Linked DNA regions of Homo sapiens: region 2 is linked to region 1. Evidence: promoter capture Hi-C in 16 types of primary human blood cells and fetal thymus (Javierre and others, 2016). All regions are on one chromosome and are shown on one strand. The core of a region is centred on a gene start or on the middle of the fragment in contact, and the rest is flanking DNA. Distances in the headings are between cores, read along the strand shown. Region 1 holds the start of PLPPR1 (phospholipid phosphatase related 1). Region 2 has its middle 140 kb from the start of CAVIN4.

Evidence for each region. Contacts are between HindIII fragments. The CHiCAGO score rates a contact against its expected background, and 5 or more counts as called.
Region 2: a contact is called between a fragment that was not itself captured here and the fragment with the promoter of PLPPR1 in region 1, in 1 of 17 cell types (M0 macrophages). The highest score is 5.5, in M0 macrophages.

What each region holds. Positions count from the first base shown.
Region 1 is chr9:101,025,752-101,031,202 of GRCh38, reverse strand. PLPPR1 (phospholipid phosphatase related 1) reads right to left here and starts at 2,476. Exons shown (of 8, transcript NM_207299.2): 1 at 2,101-2,476. The HindIII fragment of the contact is 3,390 bases long and covers 277-3,666 here.
Region 2 is chr9:100,716,095-100,721,659 of GRCh38, reverse strand. No RefSeq gene overlaps it. Among named protein-coding and RNA genes, the nearest start is that of CAVIN4, 140 kb to the right of the region's middle. The HindIII fragment of the contact is 241 bases long and covers 4,029-4,269 here.

The DNA of each region.
Region 1 (5,451 bases), core at 1,227-3,726:
CTTGCCAAGGTTTTCAAAGAAAATGATGAGAGTGTTCACCATGGGATAAAAAGGACATATGCTGACAATTATAGTTAAATCCCCTCTATGCCAATTTCACTTGAAAATATTCCTGGAAAGGTCTTTACTTCCCTAGTTATTTGAAAATAAAACACTCAGATTTCTATCTTACTGAATACCTTTAAAATCATAAAAGCGAAACTATTTTAATAATAAGCATCCCTTTCCCAATTCCCCCCCACCCCCTGCTTCTTTTTTTCCTTTCTTAAAAAAGCTTTTCACCTTTGGCTATGCTTACTTATGAGTGAAGATCACTTTCATAAGTCATTTCTCAATTAATCTCACAAATATCATGCTTTCTCCCACTTCAAAGAAGTCACAAAATGTTAAAGATAAAAAGGTCCCCATCCCAAGCAGCAGAGAGACTCCCCAACCTGTCATCTCAAAGTGAAGAGAAGCCCTCACCCCCACCCGTGAGGAGCAGCAGGCATAAGTACTGGATCTGAGCTTCCGGAGTTTACTTCTTTCAGCATCAGCTTGGCTTCCAGATTCCCCATACACTTTTCCTAAAAATACAAGGCTCCTGACGTGCACAAGAGCCAAAAATGTACCTGTCTGCCCAACCCGCCTTTCAGGTACAACCAACACGTCAAGATGGAGAAACTTTCACACGAGGCACTTTCTAGACCTAAACAACTAATTTGTAAGTATGCTAAATGTTATCCCAGAAATAGTGAAGTCTTTTACGCTCCAGATGTGACATTCTAGACACCTCAAAACTAGCGTCCCACCAGAAGAATAGGAGCTGCCAACCATACAAGCAGAAGGGGCATAGAAATTCAGTGAAGGCTGTAGTGTACGTCCCCTCCAGTCAACCTCTTCCTGCCTTCATTAACCTCTAGTCACACCTCTCCTAAGTGACCATTATTTGTCCCTCTTCTATCTCCCTTTGTCCCAGTCCTGGACTCCTCACAGGCTGACCCAGTCTCTGCTGTTTCAAAAGGCCATTCGATTTGACGCTTTTCCCGGGTGCAGCGGGTGCACTGCACTCTGAGATCCCGCCCCAGTAGTAGAAAGGATTTTAGGAAATCCTTTTCTCAGGACCTTTTCCGTCGGGCCGAAGAGATATTCAGAACCGTGCCTGTCCACCAACTAGATAGCAGACACCACAGAATCTCTCCCAGGAAAGAGGTTGAAAGGAAAAAAACCCGACATCCCCACAAAGAAAAATAATAATCCAGAATCCTCCACATATTCCACACGTGCGTGTCATAAAACCCTTGGGAAATGGGTTGGGAGAGGATAAAGCCCCGTCTTCCCACTGCCGCCGCCGCAGCAGCAGCCCCTGTTCAGCTCCCAGCGCTGCCGCGATGGTGTGCGTGAAGACAGCACCTTCCCTGAGGAGGAGAGATCCTAGCGTCCTCCGTTCTAGGAGGTGATTATGGCAAGCCTGTCAGTAACTCATCATTTATCCCCGCACTGACCCGAGCCTCACCCCGGCGCCTTTGGCACCGGAGCTCGATGAGAAAGCCGAAGGCCGCCCCTCCAATTTTCCAGGTGACACACACACCCCACTATGCGCCTAGGACGCAGAGGGGTGGAAGGGAAGGATGACAGGTGCCCATGCCTGAGGGAAAATCAATGGCAACCCTTACAGCTTGGGGTGAGAAATCTCAACCCCCGCCCGGGTGGGAGGACTTGGCATCAGCTACCTGCAGGGCGCCTCCGCCTGCACACCCACCCAACGCGTGCAGGCTCGCGTTGCAGCCCGGAATGCAGTCAGGAGGGTGGAACGGGACGGAGGGAGCCTCCACGCCCCCTTTGTCTCCACGTTTCCCAGATGACATGGAAGGAAAGTTTATGAGCAGGGAGGTGGTAGCTTTCTGCTGGGTCAATCTGACACCTCGCAGGAGGCGACCCTCCCTGGGTTCGTCCTCTCCTCTGCACAGCCCCAGCGCCGCCTTCATCTGCACCTCGACACCCACAAGCAAGGCATGGGACACCTGCGCCGCCGGGTCCGGCCAGGAGCTTGCCCCGCGCTGCCCTACTGCCCCGGTGCAGAGACTTCCCCAGCGGCCCGGCTGCGGGCGCCGCACTCACCTCCCGCAGCGGAGCGTCCTCCAGTGCGCCCTACTGGGCCGTCCGGCTCCCGGGAGCGAGGTACATTCAGGCGGCGGTCCGAGACACGCTCTCCAGGCGCTGCTGCATTCCGCTTGCGTGGGAGAGCAAGCCGGCGAGCGAGCGGCGCGGGCGTGTACGAGTGTGTGTTTGTGCGAGTGTGTGCGCGAGTGTGTGTATGTGTGTGTCCGTGTTTGTGCGCGCGCCCGTGGGGCGGAGGTGCGCGGGATCACAGATGCCGCTGGGCGCCCATCCCGCGCTCTGCTTCCTCCGCTGCCTCCTCCTGGCGCTGCAGCTTGCACAGGGTCCAGGTTTCAGGATCTCCTGTTTGTTTAATGAAAGGAAAGAGCAAAAGGCTGGCGCGGAGGGGGCGGAGGAGGGGAGAGGCGGGGAGGGTGCCGGGCTGCGCATGCTCAAGAGAGACTCAGCTCTGGCTCCAGAGCCCAGACAGAGCAGAGAGAGTGAGCTCGGGGTAGAGGCAAGCCAGCCAGATTGCGTCCAGCGGCAGTCGCTCCGCGGGGTTCCCAGAAGGCAGCGGGGAAACCCCGCCGCAAAGGTGCGCCCTGCGCGGGGACTCCGCGGCGCATGCAGAGCTGGAAGCCAGTGGTGGGATCCCCACCCATCCTTGGAGACCGCTTCTGCCTCGAGTCCTCGGTAACGTGGGGCTGTCCTCTCCCGGTGTGGTTTTAGCGCTGGCGCGGGCGTTCCTGTGGGCCATTCTCTTGCTTTCTACCCTGCGGGCAACCGAGATGCGTCTCCCCAGAGGTCCAGGAGGAACCACAGGCTGCAGGTCGCCCCGAACTAAAATGAGTTTCCTGGTGTGTGCTTCTTTCTTCCCCTCCCAACTTCCACTCCTTTAAGAGCAAGAAAAGGCAACGTCCAGTCGGGTCCCACAACAGCTTTAATGGGGCGAGGGCGAGAAGGGGGCTAGCGATAACTCTTCCAAACAACAAAGGAGGAGTGGAAGGAAGGTGAGTCTCTGAGGACCCCATACTAAGCCTCCTTTGATGATAGGGGTAAATGGAAGAGATATTTGCCCTATTTAAGAAGGCAAAAAAAAAAAAAAAAAAGAACAATGGGTTCATTGTCCCCTTGCCTAGAATGCCAACGCAATTCTAGGTCTTTGTGAGGCCTCTGGCTATTTGGTAAAGTGGGAGAACTGTCAACTCGAAGAGAGTCCAGTAAGAGAACCTGAGCCTGCTATGGCACAGTAACCTGAGGCCAGGGGAGATGGCAGGTGAGAGTCGTTGCAAGTAGAGTGGAAACTTCTTGGATCAGATTGTTCTGTGAGCAAAACAGAATGGTTAGGATCCATTCAAGAGCTTCTATTTTCAATCTCTTCCCTGTTTAATCGTTCTGTCTCCCCACACACCACACCCCATTTTCTTTCCTACAGAAGAAAAGACATCCCAAGCAGGAAACTCCCTGTAAAGAGATTTCTACCTCCTTTTTATTCATTTTCTGTCCCTCCAGAAAAGGATAACCTTTGGTCCCCTCTGCTTTGGAGGAATAGAGGACAGCCTGCCTTGTGCAAATCTTTTCCAAGCTTTCATTAAAGATCACCTCTAAGCATTTCCACTTTACAGTGGAAGCGAGCAGATGCCTTCTTGCTGAACTCTGACCCACATACCATTCATCTTCCCAATAATAATGCCAAGTGACACTCGAACAGCAGGACAATTAGATCAAATCCTAGAGCACACCCAGAGGAGAAAAAAACAGCATGTCTAAATACCACCAACAAAAGTTTAGGAGAACAGACTTAGAGGAAGGAGAGAAAAAAAGGAAAGTTCTTAAAAAGAGAAAGTGCCCTGGGTGTAGTGGCAGGTTTATTTTCTCAGTAGATCCTTGAAAGAAGTAGAATTGCAGCATCTCTTTGCTTAAAGGACAAGTGAGAGTAAGTCTCCATCCACCAGGTAGGGGAGATCAGGTTCTCCTGAAGAGCAGCAAAGCCTCTATAGTGAACCATGTAGGGTATTTGGAGCTCCTCCTTCCATGCCTGTTTATATCAGGACTTCCCTTTGGTGCTCGGCTTCTTGGAAGGCATCCAAGATAGATCTGCCTTGTTGTCACGTTCCCCTCAGAACAGTAAACAGTGTTCACTAGAATTGCAAGGTGTTAGTATTGGTAGGGCCAATTGCTTCCTTGAGGCAAGATAGCCATTCTCTTTGCCCTGGTGCGTAAGCACAAGGTGAGTGACGGCTTTGAATTCATGAACTAAGAGGGGCTGGGGTTTACAGTTCACTCAATAGGAGACAATTCTAAGGCACTTCCTCCTACAATGATAAGTATCCAGGGTTGCCTGGCCAAGAAGCCCACTCTATCTGAGCCTGGCCTTGGGTGAGAGGGAAAGGGATACCACTCCCCTCAATGCTTAGGGACCATCTCTAAGCAGATGGACCTGTTCGCCATCTCAAAGCAGAAAGTAGCTCCAACAAGGTGAAGGGTGAAGGAGAATTTTTAAATGCAGAATTGCAAATAAAGTGAAATCTCTTTATGGTGTGTCTGCTAGGAGATGGTGAATGAGCAGTTCTGGAAGAGATTTTTACTGTTTGGGGACAGTAGGGAAAACACAGGGACATTAAGTGAGATGATGTACATAAAGCACTTAACATAGTGCCTACTGCCTAACAAGCTCTGCATAACCTGTAGCTCTTATTTTGGTTATTAATATTTTCATTATTGTGATAGTTTATTTTTTTAAAAAGGCTAAGAAGCTCTTTTTTCCTTAGCTTAAACAAGCAAAGCAGATTAAAGCCAAAAGCCTTCCAGTTTTTCCTTCTGGCTTCCTCCATCGCCCCCTCACTCATCACCCTGATCACTGATGTATTCAAATCCATGTAATGAAAAGCATGCTACAAAGATGTGTGGCAGTGTGAATGGGGAATAGCTCCAACTCTCACCCTTCCACCCACAAATCTAGACGTAAGTGTGAGATAGCTTTGTCTTTCAGTAACATGCCTCAAGCACTTTTTGCCACTCATGTCTCACAGTGATTAAGGACTCCTGCCTGGCAGGGTCTCTTGCTATAACACCCCACCTACATTGGAATACCAAGCTTTGTATTTTCACTTTTTTTTTTTTTTGCCTGCCTTCTAATTTTAGCTATCATATGTGTTACTCCTCCTAGGTAACAAAATGCCCAAAGCCAATTAATATGCACACATCTGCAGATGGTTTGAGATAAATTAATGGTAAGAATTTCAGTGGCTGCCAGTATTTTTAATGCTCCTTTATCACAGATTTCAGACTTAATACTCATCTGCTCTACTTAAAGAATAATCCCTAAACTTTGTACTTCCTTCTACCAACCAAGCAACATACCTAATGGCC
Region 2 (5,565 bases), core at 2,900-5,399, 310 kb after region 1:
CCTGGGAAACATAGTGAGAACCCATTTCTCCAAAAAAATAAAAATTAGCTGGGTGTGGTGGCTCACACCTGTACTCCCAGCTACTCAGGAGGCTGAGGTGGGAGAATCGCTTCAGACTGAGAGGTCAAGGCTGCAGTGAGCCGTGATCACACAACTGCACTCCAGCCTGGGTGCCAGCGTGAGGTCCTGTCTCAAAAAAAAAGAAAAAAAGAAAAAGAAAAAGAAAAGCTAGTGATCAGTAAAATGTAGTCTCCAAAGTTAACATACACATTAAAATTTAATACAAGTTTCAAATTATCATTATATTACTTAACATAAAAATAATAATTTTCTAACCTTAATTCAAACTGCCAATGTACAACAAAAAGTGGCAAGTGGGGAAAGCAGTGAAAAAGTCAAGTTATACCAAATTTCTCATTTTCCAGTCAGAAGTGGGCTGAAGTCAGCTCCTACTGACTCAGAAGAGCCAATGTTGCTCTTCTATTGCCAACTCCAAGTTCAGAGTCATTGTGTTGATAGCTTGAAATCTGCCTCAGAGGAAGAATTTACACCATGGAAATCAGCCAATGCTACAGATAAGGCTTTTGTTTATATTCCAGAAAGCCACTACTCTCCTCCAGCATATACTCAGTAGTTACGTGTGTGTGTGTGTGTTGGTGGGGGGGGGTAGTGGTGGTGATAAAATATGGGGTAGTGGTGGTGATAAAATATGCCTAACATAAAATTTGCCATTTCAAGCATGCAATCCAATGGTATTAAGTACATTCACAATGTTGTGTAACCATCAACATTATACATTTCCAGAACTTTTTCATCATCCCAAACAGAAACTCTGTACTCCCTATAACTCCTCTTCTTCTGCTCCACTCAATGCCTGGTAACCACTGTTCTTTCTGTCTCTGTGAATTTGCCTATTATCATACCTCACATAAGTGGAATCATACATTATCTGTCCTTTTGCATCTGACTTACTTCTCTTGGCATCATGTTTTCAAGGTTCATCTGCGTTGTAGCATGTATCAGAATTGTCTTCATTTTTAAGAATGAATAGTATTCCATTGTTTGTATGGGCCACATTTTGTGTAGCCATTCATCCACTGATGGAAGTAGATACTTTTTAATATTTGTTAATAAATAGAAAAATATGTTTAAATAATTTTACTACCTACATGAGTGAGCAAAGATAAGAACAAACTCTGAACTTCCTGCTGATAAGACCTCCGTATTCTCAGTTACTTAGAAAATAAAAGAAAATATTGTAACCCACTATCAGTGAAATGGGTCATACTCTTATCACTGACATGGTCAAGGACTCCCAGCATCTTGTGCTGGAAGCCCTCATCAAGTGTCTTGGCACAGGAGTTAATAAATTAAGAAACACAGACACATTGAGCACCCATTCAATTCCATGAACTGTGCTGGGTACCGTCACATACATCATCTCATTAGTTCTTATGAAATAGATATTCTCCATATTAAAAACCTGTATGCACTGTTTAAGCCACTGTGTACGTCAATATTTAAACCCTTTAATGATACCAACGAACTGGCTATTCCCTGTTAACTTATCTAGTCTACGTTGCAGTTCTTTCTACTATGAGAACGTAAAAAAAGAAATCATGCCCTCAGAGGTATGTTGATGAGAATAGAAGAGATTTTCAAGCTATTTCTGCAAGCACAGTGATATGGTTTGGCTCTGTATCTCCACCCAAATTTCATCTCGAATTGTCATCCCCACATGTTGAGGTTGGGAGGTGATTAGATCATGGAAGCCATCTTCCCCATGCTGCTCTCAAGATAGTGAATGAGTTCTCATAAGAGCTGATGGTTTTAAACTGTGGCACTTCCTCACTCTTTCACTCTCTCTCCCGATGTCATGTAAGATACGACTTGCTTCCCCTTCACTTTCCACCATGATTGTAAGTTTCCTGAGGCCTCCCCAGCCATGCAGAACTGGGAGTCAATTAAACCTCTTCTTTTTATAAATTACCCAGTCTTAGGTAGTTCTTTACAGCAGTGTGAAAACGGACTAATACATTCAGGCTATTTGCACTCATTTCACAATACAGAGGAAGAAAGACACTGTTTCTGATAAGGAAAAAGGCTTAGATGGTCCAGTAACTTACCAATCCAGTCAAAAGGCAAGAACCCAGTTTAAAAGACATGAAATAAAAGTTAATTCAACTAGGAAATGGATATGCAGTATCTAAAGGCTCAGACTACCAGATGTACTAAAAGTTGTGAACAGTAATCAACTATCATGGTACTGCATTATTTCCTTCTAGCCATGCAGCTGCTTGCTGTTCTTATAGCCATGGAGCTATGATTTCCTTATGCCCATGGAGTTGCCTGGTTTCCTCAGCCCATGGTGCTGCATAGTTTCCTCATAACCATGGTGCCCCATGGTCCCCTCATGACCATGGAGCTGCATGGATTCCTCATTGTCATGATGCTCCATGGTTCCTGATGTACGTGGTGCTGCTTGGTTTCCTTATGCCCATGGAGCTTCATGGTTTTCTCATGGACATAGAGCTGCATGGTTTCCACATCCCCATGGAGCTGCATAATTTCCTCATGCCTATGAAGCTGCATAGTTCTCTTATGGACACATAGCTGCATGGTTCCCTCATGCCCATGATACTACATGGTGTCCTCATGCCCATGGAGCTGCATGGTTCCCTCATGCCCATGGAGCCGCATGGTTCCCTCATGCCCATGGAGCCACGTGGTTTCCTCATGGTCGTGGTGCCACATTGTTTCCTCATGGCTATGGAGCTGCATGGTTCCTTCATGCACATGTAGCGTCGTGGTTCTCTTATGCCCACAGAGCTGCATAGTTTCCTCAGGCACATGGAGCTACCCAGTTTCCTCATGCACATGGTGCCACATGATTTTCTCAAGCTCAAGAGGCTGCATGGTTCCCCCATGCCCATATTGTTGCATGGTTTCCTCATGCCCTTGGAGCTGCATACTACCTCATGCACATGAAGCTGCATGGCTCCTCATGGCCCTGTAGCTGCATGATTCCCTTATGGCCATGGAGCTGCATGGTTCCTCATGCCCATGGAGCCTCATGGTTCCCTCATGGCCATCATACTGCATGGCTTCTTCATGCCCATAGAGCTGCATGGTTCCTTTAAGGTCATGATCCAGCATCATTCCCTCATGCCCGTGGCCATGATGAGGTACAGGGAATTTTTGCTTCATGAATGTGCCTAGTTAAGGATAGGGGATAGAGAGGGGCATGTGTGTCCTGGAGGAATATAGATAGACCTTACACTGCAAATATTCCCCTAATTTTGCTCTTCTGTCTTTCAAAGCAAACAAGCCAAAAAGATGGAGGGCATGGTTCTCAACATTGGCTACATATTAGAATCACCAGTGCTGCTCTTAAAAAGCACTATTCCCCGACCCAGCCAAGACCAATTGCAGCAGAATCTATGGTGGCATTGCCAGGATTGAAAGCAAGTAGCATAAAGGCATAACTTACAGTAAGGGACTGAAAACTTGCATGTCTGCATCAGATATGAAGGGGCTACTACCTCTTCTGTAGCCTCTCTTGTGACTCTCATTCCAGGGAGTAAAAGGGGAGGAAACTAACAATACATGAAAAGACACATAAATGTTTCATAAACTAAGCATCGAAATGAGAAGCAACGTAATGCAGGCAACTCCAAGAACACCTCTTCGACCAACATTAAACCAGTGACTTAAATCTGCCATGGAAATTGGCTAAATCTTCCACTGGTTTCACTTCTTCCACTCAGTTGTTTCTGCTACTTTTGACTTTGTTTTCTCTCTTGAGGGGATCCCTGTGGATTGTGCCAGACAGGCTTATTCTGGCTGACTCACTGCTGTTCAGAGACTTTCTAAGATTATCCCGCCTCAGTGGAATTATTCAGGGGGTTCCCAGTCCTTTCAGAGATAGCAAACCAATAAAATATTGGAATATATTATCAGGAGGCTGCTATAACATTACAATTATTAATACATTATCTTCCCACAAATAGGTCACAGGCACAAAAGCTTTGAATAGCCTGGGGCATTACTGAACTTGATTTTAGCTGGATGCCAATGCCAATGAGCAAATTTTTTTTCACTTCTCAAAATAAATGTACAGCCCAGTTTACTTAAAGAGTGAAAGATTAAAAATACCTCCTAGTTTGAGTACTGCATTCTCCTTGAGAATATAGAAAAGGAAAGTGAACTAGCAACTATTGGATACCATGTGAACTCCCTCTTGAAAAACAGAAGCTGCCATGGGAAGCTTTGGTGAAACCTGGGCCAGCTGCGTGGTGCCATTTACCATTGAGGTGCTACTAGATGAGGCATCTGTTATGGGTTGAATTGTACCCCCCAAAAAATGTTGAAGTCTTGTCCCCTAGTATCTGTGAATATATTATATTCACAGCTGGAATTATAGGCATGCGCCTATAATCCCAGCTACTCAGGAGGCTGAGGCAGGAGAATCGCTTGAACCCGGGAGGCAGAGGTTGCAGTGAGCCAAGATCACACCATTGCACTTGTTTAGAAATATGTTCTTTAAGATGATCAAATTAAGGTGAAGTCATTAGGGTGAGCCCTAATCTAATATGACTGGAGTTCTTATGAAAAGGAGACATTTGGACACAAAGACACTTACAAAGGGAAGACAATGTGAAGTCACGGGGTAAATATCTACATGCTGAGGAATGCCAGAAGCTAGCGGAGAGGCCTGGAGATGCCTCCCTCACAGCCCTCAGAAGGAACCAACCCTGTTGACACCCTAATTTCAGACTTCTAGCCACTAGAAAAGTGAGACAACAAGTGTCTGATGCGTAAACCACCCAGTTTGTTGTACTTTGTTATGGCAGCCCTAGGAAAGTAATACAGCATCCAAAAAAAAGTATTGGTTTAAAACCTAGTGAACAATTCAAAACCAAACCACAAATCCAGAGCCCTAGGTAAAAACAGGCATTCAGGGTATCATGCCAAAGAAGGCAGGTACCAGAAAGAGCTGACTAGAGAAAGTTAGAATGCTAGGGGCTGGGGTGGGATCAGGGGAGGGACCAGTGGTAAAGAAATCTCAAAGACAAAGAGGAAATAAGCTCACTTCATAAACACAGATTCAGCACCTACTGTGGGCTAGGCAGTTTCCTAGGTGCTGGGGATACAAAGGTGAGTAAGTCATACCCTGCCCACAAGGAGTCATGTGTCATCTGCCCCATTAGACTGTTGTTGATATCCTATGCCAAGATAGCAGCAAGCAGAGTAGTTTGAGGGCATAAAGGGATGGAAGATACTCACATAGCAATGTGGGTGCTTGGGGAAGACTTCCTGGATAATAGGATATCTAGACTCAATCTTGAAGAATGATATATTGGCAGGGTGGACAAAAAGAGGTCTATTTTCATAAAGAACCCAGGGGCCTCTCAGTACTGTGTTGAGGGTATCTAGGAGGATGTGATTCTTTTTAAAAAGAGAAGAGGTGGCCAGGTGCGGTGGCTCACACCTGTAATCCCAGCACTTTGGGAGGCCAAGATGGGTGGATCACCTGAGGTCAGGAGTTGGAGACCAGCCCGGCCA